Linked DNA regions of Homo sapiens: regions 1, 2 and 3 are each linked to region 4. The links are contacts of gene promoters, found by promoter capture Hi-C in human tissues and cell types (Jung and others, 2019). All regions are on one chromosome and are shown on one strand. Each heading gives the region's core, a stretch centred on a gene start or on the middle of the fragment in contact. The rest is flanking DNA. Distances are from core to core; before and after follow the strand shown.

The links. Contacts are between HindIII fragments. The study calls those that stand out against the background at their distance.
Region 1: a fragment that was not itself captured here is called in contact with the fragment with the promoter of RBM24 in region 4 in 3 of the 25 tissues and cell types used here (IMR-90 fibroblasts, bladder and thymus).
Region 2: a fragment that was not itself captured here is called in contact with the fragment with the promoter of RBM24 in region 4 in 2 of the 25 tissues and cell types used here (aorta and liver).
Region 3: a fragment that was not itself captured here is called in contact with the fragment with the promoter of RBM24 in region 4 in 4 of the 25 tissues and cell types used here (H1 embryonic stem cells, IMR-90 fibroblasts, mesendoderm cells and 1 more).

What each region holds. Positions count from the first base shown.
Region 1 is chr6:17,562,802-17,569,270 of GRCh38, reverse strand. No RefSeq gene overlaps it. Among named protein-coding and RNA genes, the nearest start is that of FAM8A1, 34 kb to the left of the region's middle. The HindIII fragment of the contact is 7,354 bases long and covers 1-6,469 here.
Region 2 is chr6:17,743,048-17,749,693 of GRCh38, reverse strand. No RefSeq gene overlaps it. Among named protein-coding and RNA genes, the nearest start is that of NUP153-AS1, 39 kb to the right of the region's middle. RefSeq lists an enhancer at 3,642-4,142 and a silencer at 5,490-5,690. The HindIII fragment of the contact is 4,502 bases long and covers 1-3,582 here.
Region 3 is chr6:17,537,482-17,544,741 of GRCh38, reverse strand. It overlaps CAP2 (cyclase associated actin cytoskeleton regulatory protein 2), which reads right to left. Exons shown (of 13, transcript NM_006366.3): 8 at 5,284-5,473; 9 at 3,594-3,769; 10 at 1,782-1,905; 11 at 1,599-1,681. Among named protein-coding and RNA genes, the nearest start is that of FAM8A1, 59 kb to the left of the region's middle. The HindIII fragment of the contact is 6,450 bases long and covers 1,011-7,260 here.
Region 4 is chr6:17,276,163-17,282,634 of GRCh38, reverse strand. RBM24 (RNA binding motif protein 24) reads right to left here and starts at 1,274. Exons shown (of 4, transcript NM_001143942.2): 1 at 886-1,274. The coding sequence starts at 1,053. The HindIII fragment of the contact is 10,579 bases long and covers 1-6,472 here.

The DNA.
Region 1 (6,469 bases), core at 2,047-4,546, 280 kb before region 4:
GTAGCTGGGATTACAGGCGTGAACCACCACACCTGGCTGATTTTTGTATTTTTATTAGAGACTTTTCACCATGTTGGCCAGGCTGGTCTCAAACTCCTGACTTCAGATGATCCACCCACCTTGGCTTCCCAAAGTGCTGGGATTACAGGTGTGAGCCACTGCACCTGGCCATAAAATTCCTTTTTTTTTGGAGTTTTACTTGTTTCCACCACAAAGAAGGCAAGTTTGTCCTGCTTCCGTGATGATGGAAGGCAGTTAACTCCTTTATGGAGTTTGAGCTTGCTTTCAACAGGGAAGATGAGGGTTTTTTTTCCTGCTTCTAGGGTGGTAGAGAGCAGTCTACAGCCTGAGAACCATCCCTAGGTAAGTAACTGCATTGGGCTTTGTCTCAGTTAAAGTTAAAATTAACAATCAGCTGGTCTTAATTTCTCCTTACGATTAGAGTGCTCAGTAATGATGTAAGTTGTGCGATCATTTGTTTTGCTTACCTGTTTTTTGTTGTTGTTTTGGTCTTTTTCCCATTGGGTTTGATCAACTCTATCCGACTTGATCAAATCTGAAGGAAGTTCCTCCTAATTTTGGGGAACAAGGCCTCTGAAGTGGCTAAATTCCACCACCCCACCACACACACAAAAAAGGTGGTGTGGTTGGGGGAAGAAAATGACTAGCAGAAGGAAAAAAAAAAGAGGAAAGATTTTTGATTTTGACTAATAAGGAGCTTTATTTACAAGTCCACTTTTTTTTTGCTAGCCAGGCCAAACTAAAAGAGCAGTGGCTGTACTTCTGAAATAGCAGCAATTTGTCCTAGCTGAAATATGGTAATGAGATTTTAAAAAGATTTTTTCTAAAGGAACTCAATGGTTAAAAGTCAGCTTAATTAAAAACTAACATCCAAGATGTGTGTGTGTGTGTGTGTGTGTGTGTGTGCATATGTGTGTGTTTGTATTTAAAAGGCTTTCATGTTTTTGTTTTTGTTTTTCTCCTAAGACCTTGTGTTTTTTTTGAGCAAAAGTTTTTTCTTCTCAGTTGGCTGAATTCTGGTTTCTTCATTTACTTATGCTGTCTCTCCTTTTTCTTGCACCGTCTGCTGCATGGGGGACCTAAAATAGTTTATAACAGCCTCAGGTTCCTTAAAGAAAATGGAGAAGGCGCCGCCAGACTCCCTTTGGGGGAGAAACCTGTTTTTCCTTATGGAACCCCAAGAATGTAAACTGATAAGTTCGTCTCAGTTTTTTTGTTTTTGTTTTTGTTTTTTTTTTTGAGACCGAGTCTCACTCTGTCACCCAGGCTGGAGTGCAGTGGCTCACTGCAACCTCTGCCTCCCGCGTTCAAGTGATTCCCCTGCCTCAACCTCATCAGTAGCTGGGACTACCAGTGTGTGCCAGCACGCCTGGCTAATTTTTTGTATTTTAGTAGAGATGGGGTTTCACCACGTTGGTCAAGATGGTCTTGATCTCCTGACCTCGTGATCTGCCCACCTCAGGATCCCAAAATGCTGGGATTACAGGTGTGAGCCACCACGCCCGGCCAAGTTCGTCTCAGTTCTTAAGCTCCTTACTTTTATATTGTGTTACCTGTTTTTTTTGTTGGTTTTTTTTTGGTTTTTTGACTAAAATAGTTATTGCAACAGAGGTTACTCTTGGATTTTAAGAAAGTGTGTGGTTTAGACACTTAGAAATGTCTTTGCTTAAAAAAGTTTTTTTTTTAAGTCACTGTAAAAGCATCACATGGTCTAACCTCAATAATTCTTCCTTTTTGTAGACCCAGGATTCAGTGTGGGCTCTGCCCAGAGCTCAGAGATCCACTTAAAAGATAGGTAGTCCCTATCTAAATAAAATTGGTCTCCTTATACAATCCTATGATAGATTTCTGCAACTTTATGTTTGATTTGATCAAATAAATGATTAGATTTTTAATCTCCCTCTAGCATCACCAGACTTTTTCTCTCTGTACCTTATGAGGTAAATTTTGCCATTTGATTTGCACCTGAGTTGTTTCCTTTAATATGAAAATTTAAGGCTATTTAGCTGACAACTGCCTAGAGTTGTGAAACAGGTTATCAAGAATCTGAAAGTCTAAGATAGGAAAAAAAAAAGGTTTTCATAAATCTGTAAGATGTACTTCTATTGGCATGCCTAATACATCTATGTATTTATGTGTTGTGTACACAATGTTTCACAACTGAAAATATATAAAAGAGCTCTAGTTAATTGGCTTAAGAAAATAAAAGCACTTGAATCAAATAGTTTATCACACAAAAAAAGACTAGTCAAATGCTTTTTCAAGTTTACATAACTTAAATAAAATCTTTAATAAATAAGCTAGCTTGAAAATTATAGGTAATTTTAGAAATGTCTTAAGAATTGCCAGCATACATTTTTGTTTGCATTTGTTAATCAAGCAATTTCATACTTATCCCTGCCAAATACTGTAAGGTGTCAAAATTTGGCACAGGGGTTACAAAACTGTAAATCCAGCCCAAGACAGAATGATCTTTGCTTGTGTAATATTTAATAAATAAGATATTGACACAGGTTTAATAAAAATAGCAACATCTTGAATTTAGTCAGACTACCATAACTTCTAATCTTGTGGCTTTAGGCAGTCTAGTCCACAGGCATTAAGGTTGGTTTTGAGAAAGGACTGTCATCATCTTTGTTCCAAAGCTAAACTATAAACTAAGTTCCTCCCAAAGTTAGTTCAGCCTACACCCAGGAATGAACAAGGACAGCTTGGAGGTTAGAAGCAAGATGGAGTCAGTTAGGACAAATCTTTTTCACTGTCGCAGTTATAATTTTGCAAAGTTATGGTGGTTCTATAACTTTAAATAATGAAATTACAGTTTTTATACATAATCTAGGTAAATGATTAAAATAAAATAATTAGGTAAATGTAATAGGATAAATACTTGCAGAAAAACTCATCATACTTTAGAATTTAAAGTTATATTAAATTAAATAAGAGATATTTCATTATTTGGTTATTTTTCAATAAAAATATATTTGTAAGAAAACATTTTTTTTTTGAGAAGGAGTCTTGCTCTGTCATCAGGCTGGAGTGCACTGGCATGATCTTAGCACACTGCAACCTCCACTGCCTGGGTTCAAGTGATTCTCCTGCTTCAGCCTCCTGAGTAGCTGGGACTACAGGCATGCACCACCACACCCAGCTAATTTTTATAATTTTAGTAGAGACCGGCTTTCACCATGTTGGCAGGGATGGTCTTAATCTCTTGACCTAGTGATCCACCTGCCTCGTCCTCCCAAAGTACTGGGATTACAGGTGTGAGCCACTGCGCCTGGCCAGAAAACATTCTTTCTTAACAAAAGTGTTTCTTTTTAAAAAGGTGAACAATTTTTGTCTAATTCAAAGCTTATTTAAAGGTCATGTATAAAACAAGGTAAAAAGAACCAGGAAATAAAAGAGATGTAACAAAAGTTATAAATATAAAGATTTTTTTTTTTTTTGGTAAGAAAGTTTAAAGAGTAATAATTTCATATGAGAAAGAATTTTGTGTGGTAAATTTAGCCCTAGAGTAAAATGACTGGTTGTTTAAGAAAGAGACATGTTCAGGACAAACCAGAAAGCCCAAGCATGTCATGAATGTTCTGTGAAAGTCACAGTAAGAAGATGTATTTAAAAAAAACACCAGGCCCAGCACAGTGGCTCATGCCTGTAATCCCAGCACTCTAGGAAGCCAAGGTGGGCGGAGGTCAAACACCTGAGGTCAGGAGTTTGAGACCAGCCTGGCCAACATGGCAACCATCTCTACTAAAAATATACAAATTAGCCAGGCGTGGTAACACGTGCCTTAATCTCAGCTACTTGGGAGGCTGAGGCAGGAGAATCACTTGAACCCAGGAAGCAGAGGTTGCAGTGAGCTGAGATTGTGCCATTACACTCTAGCCTGGGAGACAAGAGCAAGACTCTGTCTCAAAATAAAAAGAAAAAAAGAAAACAAAAACACCAAAAACTTTCATATGATCAAGTTGTCTATGATTAAGGGGAAACTATAATGGTCTTTCTAGGGATTGGGTTTGATGTTAAAAAAAACACTTCTACATGTATAATTGGTTAGAACAATGAAGTTTTCTTAAGGGGTTGATTTATGCAATAAATTATTATTATTATTATCTTTTTTTTTTTTTTTGAGACAGAGTCTCGCTCCGTCACCCAGGCTGGAGTGCAGTGGTGTGATCTCGGCTCACTGCAAGCTCCGCCTCCTGGGTTGCCATTCTCCTGCCTCAGCCTCCTGAGTAGCTGGGACTACAGGCACCCGCCACCATAACCAGGTAATTTTTTGTATTTTTAGTAGACAGGGTTTCACTGTGTTAGCCAGGATGGTCTCAATCTCCTGACCTCATGATCCACCCGCCTTGGCCTCCCAAAGTGCTGGGATTACAGGTGTGAGTCACTGTGCCTGACCTTATGCAATAAATTATAAGAGATTTTAATTTTTAAAATTTTAACCCAAAGTTCAACTTTTATTGCATGTCACCAGTTTGGGTGTTCTCTTCACTTTTAAAAGCCACGAAATAGTAACACTCTCCTTCAACTCATTTTCGGCTCATATGAGTCTTTTTTTTTCCCCCTTGAGTTCTGTTCTGTTTGTTTTGGCCTGATGGTAACAATGTTTTCTTAAAGATCTAAAGGAAACGTTTTCTTCCAGCATTATATTCTGTGCACTGTAGAAGGTCTTTTCTTTTGTCTTTTGGTAACTGGCCTAACAGATTTTATGTTTTATTGAAATAATTCTTATGCCACTATTATTAAGTTTGGTTTGCTTAGGAAAAACAGAGATTTAAACACTTTTTTTTTAAATTAAGGTAATTAAGGTTGTTACCTCCTTGTGTCTCCTGTATGTGCTTTTAAAGTCTTTGTGACATTGAGTCACAGGGCTTTGACTCCTGGGTCTAAAAAGAACAGCAAATCCTGCTAAATCTTAAACACTGATGGCAATTAAAGCCTTGTCTTTAGGCCCAGTAGAAGATGCCAATCAAAATAAACTGCATTCTTGAGACACAGGGCCAGAAATTAAAGCTATTCAACTCTTCAAGGCCCAGGGCATATTGCAGAAGAGGTGGTCATAAGAGATTGTAAGGGCCAATTTTGAGACATAAAATAAGTTCAGTTTCTCTATAGATTAATAATTAATGTGAAAGGCACACTGATGTAAGACCAGCATATGGGCCCCTGTGTCAGATTAACAAAGTTTTCTTGGCATTAACTTACTCCTTAATAAGGATTATAAAGGGTATAAAGGTTTATGGAAGTTATATGTTATGATCAGATCAGATGAAACTTTTATAGATTGTTTATAAAATTTTGGACAACAAATTTAATTGGCTTCATGCTGTATTTATGAGGGCTTATTGTTTGAAAAATTAAGTCTCCTCTGTCAAAGAATGAAAGTTTTTGCCTTGTTTTGAAGTCCTTGAGTTATCACTTTGATTAAATGAATGACTTATTTTACAATGACCTGTGATCCTATTTTGTAATATCAAATTTTTTTTTTTTTGAGACGGAATCTTGCTCTGTTGCCCAGGCTGGAGTGCAGTGGCATGATCTCGGCTCACTGCAACCTCCACCTCCTGGGTTCAAGCGATTCTCCTGCCTCAGCCTCCCGAGTACCTGGGACTACAGGCGCATGTCACCACACCTGGCTAATTTTTTGTATTTTTAGTAGAGACAGAGTTTTACCATGTTAGCCAGGATGGTCTCAATCTCCTGACCTTGTGATCTGCCCTCCTTGGCCTCCCAAAATGCTGGGATTACAGGCATGAGCTACCGTGCCCAACCTATATAAAATGTTTTAAACCTTTGGTATTTGACAAACTTCCAAAATCAAATTATAAATTATGTCTTTTACTGACCTAATTAATCCTTTAAGATATTCTTAATAGGTTCCCTAAAGTCTAAAAAATGACATATTTGGTTTATTTGGTACAAAAATTATACAGGAAGCATTGCCAAATATAAAATGGTGTTTGGTTTTCTTTGGGCTGTATTTGTATAACTATGTTATTGGTATGTGTTCCAAAATAATGGGAAACTCCTAAAATTCTGACATGACTTAATGTATGTTATCAGTAATTGTTAAGTTAAATTATTGTGTGCCACAGAGGTAACAAATTTCCTTGTAAATTGTGACTTTGACTATGGCTGCCTTAACACTTTTTGTCATCCACAGAAAATTGTTTTGTTTTGGTCCTCTCTAGAAGGTGGTTTTATAATCAGCTATAAGACTCGAACAGGTGTTCTTGAATGCAGGTTTCTGATAACTTTGAAGATTGTAACATCAGGAGAGAAGAACAACTTTCAGGACTCATGGAAAGCTGAAATGTTCATAAATATCAAGCAGAACAGAATTGACTGCATAGATAAACTAATAGAAGTCTGCAGTAATCTTTTTAACTTTTTACTTAAAACATTGCTGAACCTTTTTTTGTTTGTTTTTCAGAGTCGAGAA
Region 2 (6,646 bases), core at 82-2,581, 470 kb before region 4:
AAAGGAAAAACTGCAGGAGTGGCATTCCTCCTTTCTGGGCAGCTCTGATACTTTGCTGTTTGTTTCCCCCTTATCTGGTGATCTCCAGCCTTTAAGGTGATAAAATGTAGCTCTTGACTAAAGATTGGGGCATCCCTGACACAGATTCAGTATATAGACAGGAAAGATCATTCTTTTTTTTTGAGACACAGCTTCACTCTGTTGCCCAGGCTGGAGTGCAGTGGCACGATCTTGGCTCACTACAACCTCCACCTCTTGTGTTCAAGCGATTCTCATGCCGCAGCCTCCCAAGTAGCTGGGATTACAGACGTGTGTCACCATGCCAGGCTAATTTTTTGTATTTTTAGTAGACACAGGGTTTCACCATTTGGGCCAGGTTAGTCTTCAACTCCTGGGCTCAAGTGATCCACCCGCCTCGGCCTCCCAAAGCGCTGGGATTACAGGCGTGAGCCACTGCGCCCAGCCAGGTGAGATCATTCTTTAAAACACACACAAACTTGAGAAAATAAGCTTATTCTAAAATGTAGTAAAGGCCGGGTGCGGTGGCTCATGCCTGTAATCCCAGCACTTTGGGAGACCAAGGCGGGCGAATCACCTGAGGTCAGGAGTTTGAGACCAGCCTGGCCAACATGGTGAAACCGTCTCTACTAAAAATACAAAAATTAGCCAGGCATGGTGGTACGTGCCTGTAATCCCAGCTACTCGGGAGGCTGACGCAGGAGAATGGCTTGAACCCAGGAGGCGGAGGTTGCAGTGAGCTGAGATTGCACCATTGCACTCCAGCCTGAACAAGAGCAAGGCTCCGTCTAAAGAAAAAAAAATAGCCGGGCGTGGCGGCTCACGCCTGTAATCCCAGCACTGTGGGCGGATCACAAGGTCAGGAGATCAAGACCATCCTGACTAACACAGTGAAACCCCGTCTCTACTAAAAATACAAAACAAATTAGCCAGGCGTGGTGGCGGGCGCCTGTAGTCCCAGCTACTCAGGAGGCTGACGCAGGAGAATGGCGTGAACCCGGGAGGCGGAGCTTGCAGTGAGCCGAGATTGCGCCACCGCACTCCAGCCTGGGCAACAGAGCAAGACTCCGTCTCAAAAAAAAAAAAAAAAAAGTAAAAATATAATATGAAAGGGAGCATCACTCCTCACTCATAAAGCATGAGGTGTGCCGCACAGTGACTTCCTTCTAAAAAGTATGGAAAAGGGAAAATGTAACTTTGTAGTAGAGAAACTTGACAAACACGACTTCAGGTGATCAAAGTCAACATCAACAGTGATAAGTCATGTAGACAGTATGTACCATTGACACCATGTGATACAAATGGCACTTCACCAATGTGATTTTCCTCCCCAAACCCATAACCCCAGTCTAATTATGAGAAAAACATCAGGCTTACAATACACCTTAGGAAACTCCTCAAACATGTCAGACATCAAAATCAAGTAAAGTCTGAGATACCATCACAGCCAGGAGGAGCCTAAGAAGACAGGACAATTAAATGTAGTGTGACAGCCTACATGGGATCCTGGAACAGAAAAAGGGAATTAGGTAAAAACTAAGAAATTGGCCGGGCGCAGTGGCTCATGCCTGTAATCCTAGCACTTTGGGAGGCCGAAGCAGGTGGATCACAAGGTCAGGAGTTCAAGACCAGACTGGCCAAGATGGTAAAACCCCATCTCTACCAGAAATACAAAAATTAGCCAGGCGTGGTGGTGGGTGCCTGGAATCCCAGCTACTCAGGAGGCTGAGGCAGAGAATTGCTTTAACCCTGGAGGCAGAGGTTGCAGTGAGCCAAGGTCACACCACTGCACCCCAGCCTAGGCGACAGAGCTAGACTCCGTCTCAAAAAAAAAAAAAAAAACCTAAGAAATTAACTGTGAAGTTTAGTCGTGTGTGTGTGTGTGTGTGTGTGTGTGTGTGTGTTAAATGAGTTAAAACCATGTGGGGTTTTTTTGTGTTTGTTTGTTTTTTGAGACGAAGTCTCGCTGAGGTGGGAGGATCACTTGAGCCCAGGAGGCTCAGGCTGCAGTGAGCTGTAGTGAGATTGTGCTACTGCACTCCAGCCTGAGTGAGAGAGCAAGACCCTGTCTCAAACATACATAATTTTAGAAATAAAAATTTAAAAAAAAAAGCTTTCACAGTAACCTAGAAGATATGGGTTTGAATTGGCTTGATGAAGGCAGAATGGAAGTGACATATTAGAGATATGTTTTATAGTGACTGCTGAAATATGGGGGATGAATACTAGCTTAGGGTGTTGGGACTAATGGCATTAGCTGATATTAGGAATGCAGGAGAAAGAACATCTTTGAATGGCAAGATAATTGATGTTTTGGACAAGTGCTCAGTAAAGGTAAGTAGCTTTTCTCTCAGAGATACTTTCTACCCCTATATTGTTTCAATTCACCTGTTCTTTGACTTCTTCCTCCTTCTTCCTTACTATGCAGGAAAAACAAACCAGACACAGCTTTTTTTTTTTTTTTTGAGGCAAAGTCTCGCTCTGTCACCCAGGCTGGAGTGCAGTGGCATGATCTTGGCTCACTGTAACCCCCACCTCCTGTGTTCAAACGATTCTCCTCCCTCAGCCTCCCGAGTAGCTGGGACTACAGGCGCGCACCGCCACACCCGACTAATTTTTGTATTTTTAGTAGAGACAGGATTTCATCATATTGGCCAGGCTGGTCTCGAACTCCTGACCTCATGATCCACCTGCCTTGGCCTCCTAAAGTGCTGGGATTACAGGCCTGAGCCAACTTGCCCAGTCCTGGCACAGCTTAATTATATGTTATGATTCATTTTCATCAATAGCCAACTTTATTATCAGTTTCGAAACCTAATCTCCCTGCCTCTAACCTCTCACTTTTCCCATTCTGCATATATGTCTACTATGTAGAATGTCTTTTACATGCATTATCTCATCTTACAAATTGGAACAATTTGTAAGATAAACATTTTCATATCCATTTTATAAATGAAGAAAAGAAGTTTGAGAAAATTGCTCAAAGTCAGACAGTAGGTGAGTGGCAGCACCAGGCCATGAGTCTATCTGACTTCAAAGGCAAGCTCTAGGCAGGGCGGGGTGGCTCACACTTTTAATCCCAGCACTTTGGGAGGCCAAGGCAGGCAGATCACTTGAGATCAGGAGTTCAAGACCAACCTGGCCAACATGGTGAAATCTCATTTCTACTAAAACTACAAAAAAATTAGCTGGGCATGGTGGCAGATGCCTATAATGCAAGCCACTCAGGAGGCTGAGGCAGGAGAATCGTTTGAACCCGAGAGGCGGAGGTTGCAGTGAGCTGACATTGTGCCACTGCACTCCAGCCTGGGTGACAGAGCGAGACTCTGCCTCAAAAAAAAAAAAAAGGCAAGCTCTAGTTCCATTAAAACCATCTTAAGTCCAGCTTGATTTGACTCCAAGCTACCTTTTTGGGCCTGCTTACTGATCATACCCTCTCTCCAGACTCACTGTACTACTTTAAGATCTTTTTTATTATTATTTTTTTTTTAGACAGGGTCCCACTCTCTTGCCCAGGCTGGAGTACAGTGGCATGATCGTGGCTCACTGCAATCTTGACCTTCTGGGCTTAAGTAATCCTGCCACCTCAGCCTACCAAGTAGCTGAGACCATAGGCCCATGCCACCATGCCCAGCTAATTTTTGTATTTTTTGTAGAGACAGAGTTTCATCATGTTGCCCAGGCTGGTCTTGAACTCCTAGGCTCAAGTGATCCACCCACTTCTACCTCCCAAAGTGCTGGGATTACAGACGTGAATTACCACACCCAGCCTTTAATATCTTTAATGGGCTCATGCCTGTAATCCTAATGAGAGGTGACAGCGTGCTGGCAGTCCTCACAGCCCTCACTCGCTCTCGGCGCCTCCTCTGCCTGGACTCCCACTTTGGCGGCACTTGAGCCCTTTAGCCCACCGCTGCACTGTGGGAGCCCCTTTCTGGGCTGGCCGAGGGTGGAGCCGGCTCCCTCAGCTTGCAGGGAGGTGTGGAGGGAGAGGCGCGAGCGGGAACCGGGACTGCGTGCGGCGCTTGCGGACCAGCTGGAGTTCCGGGTGGGCGCGGGCTTGGCGGGCCCCGCACTCGGAGCAGCCGGCCAGCTCTGCCGGCCCGGGGGAATGAGTGACTTAGCACCCGGACCAGCGGCTACGGAGGGTGTACTGGATCCCCCAGCAGTGCCAGCCCACCGGCGCTGCGCTCGATTTCTCGCCGGGCCTTAACTGCCTTCTCACAGGGCAGAGCTCGGGACCTGCAGCCCGCCATGCCTGAGCCTCCCACCCGCTCCATGAGCTGCTATGGGGCCGAGCCTCCCCTACGAGTGCCACCCCCTGCTCCACGGCGCCCAGTCCATTCGACCACCCAAAGGCTGAGGAGTGCGAGCGCAGGGCGCGGGACTGGCAAGCAGCTCCACCTGCAGCTCCGGTGCGGGATCCACTGGGTGAAGCCAGCTGGGATCCTGAGTCTTGTGGGGACGTGGAGAACCTTTATGTCTAGCTCAGGGATTGTAAATACACCAATGGGCACTTTGTATCTAGCTCAAGGTTTGTAAACACACCAATCAGCACCCTGTGTCTAGCTCGAGGTTTGTGAATCCACCAATCGACACTCTGTATCTAGCTGCTCTGGTGGGGCCTTGGAGAACCTTCATGTCTAGCTCAGGGATTGTAAATACACCAATCGGCACTCTGTATCTAGCCCAAGGTTTGTAAACACACCAATCAGCACCCTGTGTCTAGCTCAGGGTTTGTGAGTGCACCAATCAACACTCTGTATCTAGCTACTCTGGTGGGGTCTTGGAGAACCTTTGTGTCCACACTCTGTATCTAGCTAATCTGGTGGGGACCTAGAGAACCTTTGTGTCTAGCTCAGGGATTGTAAACGCACCAATCAGCGCCCTGTCAAAACAGACCACTCGGCTCTACCAATCAGCAGGATGTGAGTGGGGCCAGATAAGAGAATAAAAGCAGGCTGCCCGAGCCAGCAGTGGCGAGCCGCTTGGGTCTTTTTCCACACTGTGGAAGCTTTGTTCTTTTGCTCTCTGCGATAAATGTTGCTGTTGCTCACCCTTTGGATCCATACTGCTTTTTATGAGCTGTAACAGTCACCATGAAGGTCTGCAGCCTCACTGCTGAAGACAGAAAGACCACAAGCCCACCGAGAATGAACGAATAACTTCAGACATGCTACCTTAAGAGCTGTAACACTCACCGTGAAGGTCTGCAGTTTCACTCCTGAGCCAGCGAGACCACGAACCCACCAGAAGGAAGGAACTCCAAACACATCCAAACATCAGAAGGAACAAACTCCAGACATGCCACTTTAGAGAGCTGTAACAATCACTGCAGGGTGTTCTCAGCTTCATTCTTGAAGGCAGTGAGACCAATGAACCCACCAATTCCAGACACACTAACACTTTGCAAGACTGAGCTGGAAAGGATCACTTGAGCCTAGGAGGTCAAGGCTACAGTGAGCTATGATCACAGCACTGCACTCCAGCTCCAGCTGGGGTGACAGAACAAGACCATATCTCTTCAAAAAAAAAAAAAAAAATCCAAACTATGCTTATATAGATCACAAAAACTCACGCTTTTCCAGCAGTTTGAATCCTCTCCGTCCTAAGCCAAGATCCTCTTCATCCTTCAAGGCCTAGCTAAAAAGCCAACTACTCAAAATAGCTTTCCCTCTTCATTTTTCTTCAGTATTTGGATTTCCTCTCAAAAGTTTTTTTATTTTCCGTTGCAGTTGTTTTCATGTTTAGCTTAACCAATTAAACTCAGTTCCTTTTCCATACTTCACTAACCTTTCTTTGCCCCAAATTAAGTACAGGGTTTTTGCATATGAAAAATTCTTAAGATGTATGTCAAATTTTAATGTTTTCAAGTTTAAAGATAGCTGGTGTGGGTTTAACTTAGTTTATGCTACCAGTTTGCTCATTTTAATTAAAGAGTGAATTAGTTAATAGAAGGAAGATCCCAAAAATGCAACGATACAATGTCTTCTCATCAGTCAATTAATGAAAGCATAAAATCAAGATAGAAATGAATATGTGCACTCTCAAATTAGGCATCGTTCCCAAACAGTTGTAATCACTTGATAGGCAATTTTTTCTCTCTGTGCCATAGATCAGTGACCCCAAGGAAAGTTGCCTAATCCAGGGGATGTATAAGATCATAAGATCATTCACTGGGATTTGGAAAGAAAATATTAGGTTTTCTCACTCTGTTTTGCCTCAATGATTTGTTTATATCCTTTACATGTACCATAATTATAATTATAGTAGCTTTACAGCGTATTTTAAAAGTTGTTAAGGTAAGTCTCCCCCTTTTTTTTTTTTTTTGAGACAGCGTTTCACTCTGTCACCCAGGCTGGCACAAGGCTTACTGCATCCTCGACCTCCTAGGCTCAAGCAATCCTCCCACCTCAGCCTCCCAGGTAGCTGGGACTACAGGTGCATACCACCACACCAAGCTAATTTTTGTATTTTTGTAGAGAAAGTTTCTCACTATGTTACCCAGGCTCATCTCAAACTCCTGGGCTCAGGTGATCCTCCTGCCTCGGCCTCCCAAAGTGCTGGGATTACAAGCTCAAGCCCACCACACCTGGCCTTCACTATTCTTTTTTTAAAATGTCTTAAC
Region 3 (7,260 bases), core at 2,986-5,485, 260 kb before region 4:
CTCTATTAAATATTCAAAAAATTAGCTGGGCCATGGTGGTGGTCACCTGTAATCCCAGCTACTCAGGGGGCTGAGGCATATGAGAATCACTTGAACCTGGGAGGTGCAGGTTGTAGTGTGCCGAGATTGCGCCTGGCCTGGGCCACTGCACTCCAGCCTGGGCCACAGAGCGAGACTCTGTCTCAAAAAAAAAAAAAGATAGAAGTTATAATTGGCCAAAACCAAGAAGTCCTTTAGATTTTGGCATATCATAAAATTCCATGTGGCTAAATCAAAATTATTATATATTTTAATTCACAGATTTTCTTCTGTTTTGCAAATTCAACTCCAACCCTACTTCTCAAGTTGTTTTTCTGATGATCTCACTGATTCTTTAGAAAAACTTTTCCTCTTCATGATCTAGGACCAATTTTTCCTGAGAAAAAAGTTCTCTTTGGAATGGGGCTAATCATACTAGGAGAGTCTCACAGTACTTTTATTTATGCATTAGTTGATTCACTCAAATCATATACCCATCAAACATTTACTGGACGCCTACTATGTGCAGGTACTGTGCAAGTTTCTGGGGCTATAAAGATTACATAGCTGTCCTTTTTTTCTTTTCTTTTTTTTTTTTTGAGACAGAGTCTCTCTCTGTTGCCCAGGCTGGAGTGCAGTGGCACAATCTCAGTTCACTGCAACCTCTGCCTCCCAGGTTCAAGTGATTCTCCTGTCTCAGCCTCCCAAGTAGCTGGGATTACAGGCACCCACCACCCCACCCGGCTAATTTTTGTGTTTTCAATATAGACAGGGTTTCACCATGTTAGCTAGGCTGGTCTCAAACTCCTGACCTCAGGTGATCCACCCGCCTTGGCCTCCCAAAGTGTTGGGATTACAGGCGTGAGCCACCATGCCTGGCCAGTTAGCTGTACTTGAAATTGAGATGGTATGCCAGTAATGGAAACACAAAATGGGATCTGTTAGAAGAGATTGAAAAGAAAGAACTAACACTGAGAAGTAAGAGAGGGGTCTACCAAGGAGGTGATGATAGAGCTGTGTCCAGAGGGAACAAGAATAGGAGTATTTTAGGTGGCCATGGGGGAGCAAGGCTCCTTCTTTTTTTTTTTTTTTTTTTTTTGAGATGGAGTCTTGCTCTGTCGCCCAGGCTGGAGTGCAGTGGCGCGATCTTGGCTCGCTCACTGCAAGCTCCACCTCCTGGGTTCACGCCATTCTCCCGCCTCAGCCTCCAGAGTAGCTGGGACTACAGGCGCCTGCCACCATGCCCAGCTAATTTTGTTTTCGTATTTTTAGTAGAGACAGGGTTTCACTGTGTTAGCCAGGATGGTCTCAATCTCCTGACCTCGTGATCCGCCCACCTCGGCCTCCCAAAGTGCTAGGGTTACGGGCGTGAGCCACCGCGACTGGCTGCAAGGCTGCTTCTTGGAGGCAGAGTGGATGGTCTGTGCAAGGCCGCAGCTTACAGTGTGGTTGGAAAGGCTGCTTATTACAGCGTGGTTGGAAAGGCTGCTTACTACAGCGTGGTTGGAAAGGCTCTGCTTATTACAGCGTGGTTGGAAAGGCTCTGCTTATTACAGCATGGTTGGAAAGGCTCTGCTTACCTGGATTTGAATGTCCTGGGAGTTGATCACTTCCACAATGCCCACCACATTGTCAAACACCAGGCCGAGTTTTTTACAGTTGTCTGTGGGGAGAAAAAACACAACAAAAAACCAACTCCACTAAATACATACAGCTTGTTTATAAAACATCATAATAACCATAGAGCCATAATTCTGCCCTACCAATTATAATGGAGTTTACTTTCCCTTTTATCTGAATAGTTGATTTTTCGCATTTGAAAATGTAAGCCACTTGTTTCAGCTCAGTCTCTGAAATCACAAGGTCATTCCTGTCCTCTTGGTACTCCTAGAATTAAGACAAATACAAATATTAAACATCAGCATATATAAACAGAAACCACTGCACACTGAAATTAGTACGAGCTCAGCATGAAGTATGGCTTTGCAATATATTCTTTTGGAACCATCTCCTTATAGATGAAACCACAGGTCTTACTCTGTCATTGTTAGGATGGGAAAAACGGAACCACTTCTTGGAAGCAAGTCAGTATCTCTTTGTAAACATCAGGTATCAGGCACCCTAGCAGGTGGGAGGCTGGAGCAGGGATGTGAGAGCTTTTTGTTGAGGCCTTGATGCCAAGTCTGGACTTGATGATGCAGCAAAACCTGCTGTGTCAAACAGGAGTTGGGCAAACAGGCTGGTGAAGGGTCACAGCAGTGGTCTAAGCCCTTGTGTTTTCAAGGCGATGACAACTCTCCAGGGACTTTGGTCCTTCATCTTTAGGGAAGCCCTCCAGATCAGCAGGAGACACCAGCTTTCATTACCATTTGAAGTGTCTATGTCCTGCTCACACACTTAGCCCGGGCAGTGGGGGGTGGCAGCAGTAGGGTACAGAGGTATCAATCCCTCCATCCATGGGACTGAACGAAACATCTCACAGCACATCAGAGTGGGGCACAGACTTCCCAGTTCCATATATTAACGGTCTGTCTTGCTGCCTGATTAAAAGCTTATAGAAAGAATAGCTAAATTCATAGAGACAGAAAGTAGAATGGTAATTGCCAGGGGCTGGGAGGGGTGCAGGGGGAGAAACAGGGAGCTATTGGTTAAGGGTACAGATTTTTGGTTCTGCAAGATGAAAAGAGTTCTGTAGTGGGTGGTGGTGATGGCAGCACAACCATATGAACAGACTTAATGCCACTGAGCTGGACAGTTAAACATGGTGAACAGTCCATTTTATGCTACGTCTATTTTACCACCACTCACAAAATAATTTAAAAAGTTGAAGAAAAGAATGCATGAGAACCTGTGAAAATAAAGTTTATGGAAGCATTCAGAAACACCCTGGTTTCTACTCTAGCCAGTGGTTTTTGCCTCTGTCACTTCACCTTGGTGGTTAATGGGTACGAACATATAGTCAGAAGGAATAAATTCTAATTCGACAGCAGAGTAGGGTAAATATAGTTAACAACACTGTCTTAAATATTTCAAAATAGCTAGAAAAGAGGCCTTGAAATGCTTCCATCACATAGAAATGATAAATACTCAAGGTAATGGACACCCTAAATATCCTGACTTGATCATTACCCATTCTTTTTTTTTGAGACAGAGTCTCACTCTGTCACCCAGGCTGGAGTGCAGTGGCGTGATCTCGGCTCGCTGCAACCTCCACCTCTCGGGTTCAAGTGATTCTCCTGTCTCAGCCTCTCAAGTAGCTGGGATTACAGGCACGTGCCACCATGCCCGGCTAATTTTTGTATTTTTAGTAGAGATAGGGTTTCACCATGTTGGCCAGGCTGGTCTCGAACTCCTGACCTCAGGTGATCCTCCCACCTCAAACCCCCAAAGTGCCGATCATTACACATTCTACGCATGTAACAAAATATCACAGGTACCCCATAAATATATACAAATGTTATGTACCAATACAAAAATTAAAAAAAAGAAATCCTTCAGATCTTGGTAAATGGTTTGGCTGTTGGTCCTTTCATTGGCGCATGTCAGGAAAATAAAGGTTAAAATGCTTCACTTACCACTCTCCATTTCTTTCCTTCCAACTCCAACACTGGGGCATGTTTTTGAGAAGGATAAGATTTAGGAGATGTGGGACTTGGAGTGTGACTTTTGGTGGGAGATTGAGTTTGCCCTCCTTGAGCCCGCAGGCTGGGATTTTTGTATGTCTTCTGGTCATCTGTGACATGGCGGAGCCCTAGGAGGACAACACACATGGACACATTTATTTTATGCAAAGGGAAATGTCTCTAACTTGCTAGATCAACATGATGTAAATAAAGAGCACAAGAACTTTTGGTAAGGCCACTTTCAAAACAGTCTAGTGCTTTCTCCAAGTCAGGATGCAGGAGCTGAGTCCTGTACAAGTTGAGAGTTGACAGAAGCACTGTAAGTTGTTGTTGTTGTTGTTGTTTTTTAAATGGAGTCTCGCTCTGTCACCTAGGCTGGAGTGCAGTGGCGTGATCTCGGCTCACTGCAACCTCTGCCTCCTGGGTTCAAGCGATTCTCCTGCCTCAGCCTCCCAAGTAGCTGGGATTACAGGCATGCACCACCACACGCTTAGCTAATTTTTGTATTTTTAGTAGAGATGGGGTTTCACCATGTTGGCCACGCTGGTCTTTGAACTCCTGACCTCAGGTGATCCACCCTCCTTGGCCTCCCAAAGTGCTGGGATTACAGGCGTGAGCCACTGCACCAGCCAAGTATTTTTTTTTTTTTTTTTAATTTGAGGAACCTCTTCTGTTGGGAGATAAAATGATAGATAAAAATTCTGCAAAGAGCAAACCACCTCACGAAAAAGGATCATGTCTTACTTCTTCTCTTACGGCTAAATCATTCTCCAGACACAGCCTAAAAGGTTAGGGCATTCCAGTGAGTATATATCAGGATATGGAATTGACTTTACGAATCCATTCCTTTACTTTGCAAATGAGTTTCACAAGGCACAGCAGAACCAGTTGGAGCCAGAGAAAAATTTAGAATTTTGGATTCTTAGCTCCAAGCCCAGTATAGTGGGATATAATTCTTTGACAAGCCTGTACACTGCTTCAGGACAGAGGAGCTAATGTTTGCCACTTTTATTTATTTAGAGACAAGGTCTCACTCTGTCACCCAGGCTGGAGTGCAGTGGTGCGATCTCAGCTCACCGCAGCCCCCACCTCCTGGGCTCAAGCGATCCTCCCACCTCAGATTCCTTAGTAGCTAGAACTGCAGGTGTGTGCCACAATGCCCAGCTAATTTCTGTTTATTTTTGGTAAAGATGGGGTCTCACTATGTTGCCCAGGCTGGTCTTGAACTCCTGGGCTCAAGCAATAGGCCTGCCTTGGCCTCCCAAAGTGCTGTGATTACAGGTGTGAGCCACCATGCCCAGCCTGCCATTTTTATTTTTATTTCACTTGATCTTGATGCCTTGGTTGTGGACAATGATGTGGAAGTACTGGGGTCTAAAGCAAGGATGCAGCACAGTGGTCCATTTAGAACCCAGAGTCTCTGAATACTTCTTTCTGGTCTACACAGTGACCCCCTGAGCCCGTCTGCATGGACATAAGGAACATGGCAGGCTCCTGTCTTCCCAGCACCAGTTCCCCCTCTCCCTGCATGCTGGAGGCAGGGATGGAGTGATGTATCCATCACTGGGGCTCCAGCGGCTCTTTTGTGTCTGGGAGCCAGAGGGAAAGGGAGGCAGCTTCAAGGTCTTCTTTTCTCTCTCACCTTTTGTAATTGCTTCTCCCTGGTTAAGTTGGGCAAATAAAGCTGAGCGTGAAGGAGAAGATTCCTCTTTTTTGCCTTCATTCTCGAAAAGTGGAGGTGGCCCTGGAGGAGGCAGAGGAGGAGGGGGTGGAGGAAGGCCAGGCCCAGAGGAGAGGACAGAAAACGCTGATACTGTGGATGCTACAGGACCCTGAGAAGACAGAAGACAGGGCATTGCATTGCATTGAGACTGCGCCCTTGCTGGGATTTTGCCCGAGAGAGTCGAAACCTGCTGCCAATGAGAGAGTGGGGTTGAAGCCTGAGCAAAGGCTCCCAGAGGGCACACCTGTGCATCATGGGTCTGTTTGGGAGGATCTGAACCATGGCAGCTCCAGCTTGGGAAAGTGGAACATGACTTAGCTGTGTGGCCCCATCAGTAGGATCTGTGCGGCAATGAGCCCTGCTGCCAAATCAGAGGCAAACGAGCCATACTCCCAAGTCCAGGTCCAAGGCTCAGGATCTAAATGACACTGGGCCTTGGCCAATTTAGAATCACAAGAAAAAAGTGATCCAATTGATAAAACGATTAGCTCTTTTGAGACACTGGAAACTGTGACCACCAATGGGGTGTGGGGAAGGGTAAAAATATTCAGTGGTGATTGGATGTTTCCGAACCTTTTTAAGCAGTGAAAGAGAGAGATACAGAAACTCTCTGGACCTGATTTTCCAAATATGCCTGCTGCAAACTGACCCCCAAACAAGGAGCATATGTGACCGGGATGCTTGTCAAACCCGAAGGTAATGAGGGTCCAGGATCCACATGACTTTTCATCAAATGTTGGCTGTTAGTGAACCAACTGAAAATTAGATTCTTCCTGATCCAAGAGCTATGGTTATTCTTATTTTCACTGCTATGTAAAGCACAACCTTTGTTTTCAGTATGAAAGCCTAACAAATTCAAATGGCAATAAGACGTGATAGACAAGAGAGAGACTTGCTTTAGTTCAGTTTTGCTTTTTTTTAAGGAGACAGGGTCTCACTCTACTGCCCAGGCTGTGTGCAGTGGCGTGAACATAGCTCACTGCAGCCCCAAACTCCTGGGCGCAAGCGATTCTCCTGGCTTAGCCTCCTGAATAGCTGGGACAACAGGCATGTGCCACTCTAACTGGCTAATTTTTAATTTTTTTTTTTTTTGAGAGATGAGGTCTCACTATGTTGCCCAGGCTGGTCTTGAACTCCTGGCTTTAAGTAATCCTCCTGCCCTGGCCTCCCAAAGTACCAGTTTTAATATTTTGGAAAATATCCAAAATATTGTATATCTGTGATATTTTCACAGAACTTAAAACTGGTAGGATAGAAACACACATATACCACAAACTTGGCCTATATACTGTTTTACTTTTATTTAATTTTGAGATGGAGTCTTGTTCTGTTGCCCAGGCTGGAGTGCAGTGGCATGATCTCGGCTCCCTACAACATCAGTCTCCCAGGTTCAAGCAATTCTCCTGCCTCAGCCTGTTGAGTAGCTGGGATTAAAAACATGCACCACCAAGCCCAGCTAATTTTTATATCTTTAGTAGACACAGGGTTTTGCCATGTTGGTCAGGCTGGTCTCGAACTCCTGACCTCAAGATTATCCACCCGCCTCAGCCTCCCAAAGTGCTGGGATTACAGGTGTAAGCCACTGTGCCCGGCCCTGTTTTACTTTTGAACCCTCAAGTAGAACTGTATACCTATAATAGGGAACTATAAACAAATTAAATAGTCACGAAGCTTAAAAAATTGCGAGTAATGGAAATGTGGCTTGGACTCATCAATTTTCAATATCAAATATGAAAGGTAAAACATTACGTAAGTGCCAAATATTAATGAAAACAGAATATCCTTATTGTCATAAACAATTTAGTATTATGCAGTATCAAAATCAGCGATTCTTAATCTGTAGTAGTTTTCAGTTAAAAACAAAACAAAACAAAACATGCTGGCTCGGGCATGGTG
Region 4 (6,472 bases), core at 25-2,524:
GCGGGCGGGGGCGTGGGGGGGGGGGGCGGGTAGACGAAGGAAAAAAGAAAGAAACCCTCTAACCCTGCCTCCCCCCACCCCACCGCCGAAATCTTAAGGGTGTTAGTAGGGCCTAGCCGAGATTTGGAAGCCTAAATTCTTGGAACTCTAGATCCTCCTTCCCCCGAATCCCCCGCCCCCCAGGTCCCTACTCAGCCTCAGAGGCACCGTTTGCTTTAAAGAAAGTCCAGCCTTACATCCGCCCAACGCTCCCAACCTCGAAAACACTCCCCAACGACAATAGCTATTGTCCTACTCTGGGGCTCCCTGCTCTTCGGCAGCTGAATTTGCACGCTTAAATCTCTAGGAAGGAAGCTTAATATGCTCTGTTTCAGTTCGGCAAAGAGCCCTAGGATCATGATTTAAAAGAACCTACCTTTGCAGTTAAAAGGCGGGGGGATGACACAAGGGCAACAGCCCCAGACCTCGTGGGGTGTCCCCTCCCTGCCCCAGCCAAAACACCAGAACACACGCATTTTTACAAAGCAACAGCGCGCTTAACAACCGGCATCCAGCCCGGGAATGCAATTGTTCAGGGTTGCGGCCCCTCCCTCGCAACCCTCCGCACCCCAAATCCCGCCGTCATTACAGGTCTCTCCTTTCACCCCTGCTCTGCCCTGCCCGGCCCCCGACCTCGCACAGCGCTGGGTCTTCTCCGAACCCCGCGAGGCTGGCGCCGACCCTCTCCCCTAGCAAAGTTTCAGTTCACCCCGGAGCGAAGGGGCAGCGCCGCTCTACCCGCGGGGCTCCTCACGGGTCACGCCGAGCCCCTCACTCCAAGCTCCCGATCCCCGGGGTCAGCCGCCACTCCGTCCCTCCCCGTCACCCCCAGTCCGTGCAACTTACAAATCCATAGCCCCGGGACTTGCCCGTCTGCCGGTCGGTGATGACCACCGCCTCCTCGATCTCGCCGAAGACCTCGAAGTACTTGCGCAGGCTGGCGTCGGTGGTGTGGTAGGGCAGCCCCCCGACGAAGATCTTGGTGTACGTCGTGTCCTTCTGGGTCGTGTGCATCTTCGCACCCGCCCCGCGGCTCGGGCTCCGGCTGCGGCTGCGGCTCGGGCAGCGGCTGCGCCTCCTCCTCCGGCTCCGCGTCTCCCGCACCCTTTCGCGGCCGCCGGGGGCCAAGGGCGAGCCCGGGGGCGAGGGCGGCGGCGCGGCGGGGGCGAGCGGCCGGGGGCGGCCGAGAGCGCCGGGCGCGCGGCTTCCGAAGTCGCCAGCGGCCCTGGAGACTTGACTTCGCTCTCTCCTCCCGCCCCCCCTGCCGGTCACCGTACAAATTCTCCGGATCGTCTGGATTAGAATCGGGTTCTATAGAATGTGCAAGCGGTTTCCACTCACCCGGCGGGGAGGCCAAAAATGAAAAGAGAGGGTAGTTCTCAAGCGAAGAAGCGGGTGCTTTAGAGGTAGATTTTTCTTCCTTAGGAATCAGGTGCCTTGGGTGGGGTGTGGGGAGGGTCCGCGGGAAGAGCGTCCGAGCGCCGAAGCGGGCGGGGGGCGCGGCGGCGGGGCCAGGGGCGAGGAACTCCGCGCAGCTTCGGCTCTGGTCTGTCCCTCCCGCCGTGGGATCTGGAAGACGAGTGCCGAGGACAGCTCTCCACCTCTCTGCTCCCTTCCCCCGCGGGCCGGGGGTCGACGCCCGGCTGGGGAGGGGGGCGGGCCGGACGCCTGCGATTGGCCGCGGCAGCACCTGGGGCGCCGGGCGCCGCCGCCCCCCAGCTGTTGGGAACAGCTGCTTCTCTCCCCGCGCGGCGCGGCGCTGGGGCTCGGGGCTCCCGCTCTGTAGCCGGCGATGGGGTAGGGCTGGAGACGCCTGTAGGCGGCCTGGCTCTCGGCGTCGCCTGCTCTAACCAGTCAAAGTCTTAGGGACCCGGCGCAGCACCAGCCGGGACCCAGGGTGCGGGGACTGTGCCCAAGGAGGAAGCTGCGTTGCTTTCCAGAGGGGACGACGCGAGCTTTTTGGGTTAGGCCTCGGTGACAGGGCCGGCGACCTGGACTGGCGAACTGGGGTCCCCAGAGGCCTGGGGCGATTCGCTGAGAGGCCAATCCCCTCCCGGGCGCGGGGGGTCAAGGAGCTCGGCCGAACGAAACCCAAGCTGGACACCCTGGGGTCTGAAGAGTGAGAAGGAGGGCCCCAACTTTCTTTGGCCCCAAAAAGCCAGTGCGGGGAAGTATCAGAGAGGTAGAGCCAGAAGGAAAAGAAAGATCTAGCGCTTGGGTGTAGTTGGGAAAACCATTAGCTTTAATTGCTACCGCCCAGCCAAACCAAGTAACCGGAGATACCTATGTCCATCAGGCACCGCCTTCTATTTCAGAGGACCATAAGTTAGTATTTTAGCCCCCACAGTCACCAAATTTGTCTTTCCTCCCTAACTTAGTTATTCAGGAAGATTGGTACAGATGTCTTAGCATAAGTCGTTCTTTTTTTTTTTTTTTCCCTAAACAAAGAATTAATCTATTTCTTTCTCTTTGAATTACAAGAATGTTTAGTGGCTTGACCTCATCTGTTTTTATCTGGATGTAAATGTAAAAGGTATAATTTTTGAAATCAACTTATTGCATAACCAGTGGTTTCTACCAGCAGACCTGAAAGCATTTGTAGAACATAGGGCACCCCATATATATTTATTACTTTACATCAGCTTTTTGCAACTTCTTTTAATTGAGAATTCATTCAATTAGGCCTTAAAATCAATCAGTCATACTTGAGGTTTGGATGAAAATATTTGATGTGAGCAGAAGGTTTCATCCACCATTGTTGGTGCACAATTGCCTTTTAAGTCCTTTCTACGGGAGTCTACAGTCCCTACATTAATCGCCCCTGAGCCGCACCATTTATTCCATTAAAACAATTCAGTATGTTAACCGTTAGAGAGGTGCATACTCTGTTTCTCTCCAGGACACCTTTGCAGTCAACCCAAGAGGGTGAGAAATGTTGCATTTGCAAAGGCTAATGGGAATGCAAATATTCTTGTGCAAAACATTAAATTCCGTTTTTCATCTTGCTGACTTCCTCATGAGGTTGACTTTTTGACGTCACTGGTTTCTTTAAGTTTGAACCCCCAGTGGGAGATATAGAGAAATCAGAAATCTATTAAAGTTAAAAACATTTTTTTCACCCGATTAAAAAAATAATAAAGAATTTTACAGACAGATGAGAGCCAGAAAGTGAAATTGTAAACACCCTCTCTTCATTACTTAAGTTAAAGGACAGGTTCAAAAACGACTCTCTGTGCTGGTATGATGAAAGATAATTTTTAAAAGTTAGAAAAACAAAGCAGGCGGGGAAAGAGAAGAGGCGTGTTTTTTAATATTCAACATCCATCTTGTGTCATTTAAGAATTACTGTACGTAGATGAGGCTCAGGCAAAACCCTTTTGTGAAGGGAAGCTGCTTAGAGAGAAGCCTTAGAAGGGCGCCTTTGGCTGTCTCGCCTTTCTTCCTACCTGGATTGGGAGCCCACCCTGGAGAGGACTGTGATAATATCAGGGAAGGAGGGTGTCTGGGAGTGTAGCCAGCAGCTAGGATGTTCACTAGGTAAAGTGGTGAGATCTACAAGGAAATTCTGATCCCGGGTTGGAATACTTGTGTCCTAGAACTCAGCTTCTGGAAATAAGACGCCTCCTTGTCATTGTCCCTCCCATCCCGTGCAACCCCTGACTGCAGTGTTTTTATTCTTTCAAGGGAACAGTAAATACTTGATCACTTTGCCTGAAACTTTGCCTGGACGGTCCCTAATTTTGAATTCCAGGGATAATTAAAACATTACTAATACACTGGTATTACGTGAGTCACTGAGAACAAAGGTTAAGAGGGATGGAGATTCCTTATTTTCCAAACGTATTTAAACGGAAGCCAGAATTCATACCCAGTTCATCTCAACAAACTTTCATCAAGACCCCCTTCCCTTCGCCCAGGCAAGCACTGTGGTAGGCATCATTGCTGCCCCTGTGGGTTTTGTTTTACATTTGCACCAAGGTGGACACAGTTAAAATGGCCAGATCCTCATTCTTGGTGGATTTACGAATCTGAGCCATCAAATCATGTAGCCTTGGGGCCATAAAGTTTTTCTGAATTCAAGGTTTCAAGGTTAAGTACCGAATATTTCTGTACAATTACTCATTACAAATTCAGGTTTGAAAAACAATGCTTGGATAATCCTTTTGCTTTGTCAGCTGCTTTTGGCAGAGAATACTTGTATATTCACAGGCCTTGTGCAATATAATGTGTGCTTCTTTGGAAAGAAAGAACCATAAAATACTGTAAAAGTTATAAATAGGTTCCACAAGGTTGTCATCTCCAAATTAGTACATATGGATGGGCCTGAAGTTTTGGTTCCTACTCCATGGCAAGATCAATATTATTTTATTACTTACTGTAAATTATTGTCCACTTTGTTCAAAATCTTTATCTGACTATAAAGGCCAGAACCAAACTCACAAGTTTCACATTCATGTATAACTGTCTTCTCTTCTCCCCTTGCCTCTTAAATTAATCATGGAAATCAACTTCAGGCTCACAGCCTTTTAGAATAATTTTGAAAAAAGAGAGAAATATTTCATGAAGATTGAGAAGCACTCTTTTGGGCTTTGTACCCCAGAGATAATATTGCTTTGGACAATAAGCCACCTGAGAGCAGGGTGACACTCTTAGGTGTCACTGGATCTCCTGCTGGTTATTAAAACCCTTCAGAGGGTTCTACATATACTTGGCACTAAAGAAATATTTACTGAAAAAAAATTGATGTTTTAAAGATGCCTGCCTTCAAGCTTGATGGGAAGAAATGCATTCTTGATTAGAATTGACGACCTATAAAGTGGGCACTTTTTTTTTTTTTTTGAGGCTGGGCACTTTTTTGTTTTTTTTTTTTAAACAAAAATATGGCTTCAGTGAAGTCTTTTGTTTTGGTGGTTTGGAAATATTTTATCTTCTTTTGAGTATCTGTGTGAGCATTTTGATGTAAAACCAACAGGTTTTCTGGCCTTTTGAGAAGTCCCGTCATCAGCTGTATTTCTGTTTCTTTGGGTGGGTTGCTAATTCTCTCTCAGTAACAGATAACAAATGTGTGTGATAGGTTATGCTGCTATTTTAGTGTGCAGAAGAATTGGCAGTCAAAAACCTAGTCAGTTCAGCTCAGACTCACCTCTGGGGGAATTCTATTCATGTTGCATTAAACCACAGCTAAGCTGGTAAATAAAGTGAAATGCAAATTTGTGCCTGTTATTCAGTCATTAAAGTCATAATGTCTCTTTTACACTGAAAATCCAAAAAACAGAAAGCAGAGCAGGATTATTTGAGGGACAGGCAAGGGCAAAAATCAAAGTGTCGAGGGACAAAAATGTTCATTGCCAGTGTCACCGTGCCAGTAATTTCACCCTGCCTGTGTAGAAGTAGCTTTAAGTGTATGCACACTTTAATTTCTATTATGTAAACCCGAAAGGCAAGAAAGAGAATGCAAACATTTTAAACCCACTGTGTGCTTGTTCACATTTTAAACTCAGGGTGTCCTTTGGTTTTAAGTCTTTTAAACAGTGAGCTTCTGAGCTGCCAAGTTATTTTTAGGGAACTGATGATACTCTCCAAATGTATTGAATGACCTCTCTCTGGATGACAAATACATTCTAATGCTGTTGCTTGTGGGCTGGGCAGAGGGCACCGGGTGATGGAAATAGTCCTGGATCTCAAGACAGGAGACCTAGAGTCTAGTCCAGGCAGTTATTAACCAGCCCCAAGACCTTGTTTGGTTTATTTCATTAAAAAGGACAAATGTGGTTAGAAAAATACTCATGATCTTATCCTAGAATGGAGGATACTAGCGTGACCCTTTATTTAAAGATGTCTATAGAGGGTGACCTCTGACTTCAAAGATGGCTTAATGTTAATACTTGAGTGTTGCTTATTAACTTTTTAATTTAAGCCATTTGAGATCATTTTGTAAGATTGATATTTTCTCTGATAACAAAGGAAAGGCATATTCATGATAGAAAGTTATGAAAACATAAAGATATACAAAGAAGAAAATAAAAATTACCCACAATTCTTTCTACTCCTTAAAATAACTGTTGACATTTTAGAGTATCTAATTCCAGGCTTTTCTTATACATAAATATACACACGTAAGTGTTACAAAAGGAAAGTACAGCTTTTATCAGCTTTTTAAAAAAACTACTAGTATATATAGTGAATATTTTTCCTTGTTTTAAATTGTTTCTACAATTTGAATAGCATTTTAACATGTCATTGTCCCCAAGTTTATTTATGCAGTCTCTTTTTGTTGGATATTTATATTTTTCCAAGTTTTCGCAGTTATAAAGGGCTCTGAAATTAATACCTTTGCAGATATATATATATATATATATATATATATATTTTTTTTTTTTTTTTTTTAAGACAGAAGTTTGCTCTTGTTGCCCAGGCTGGAGTGTAATGGTGC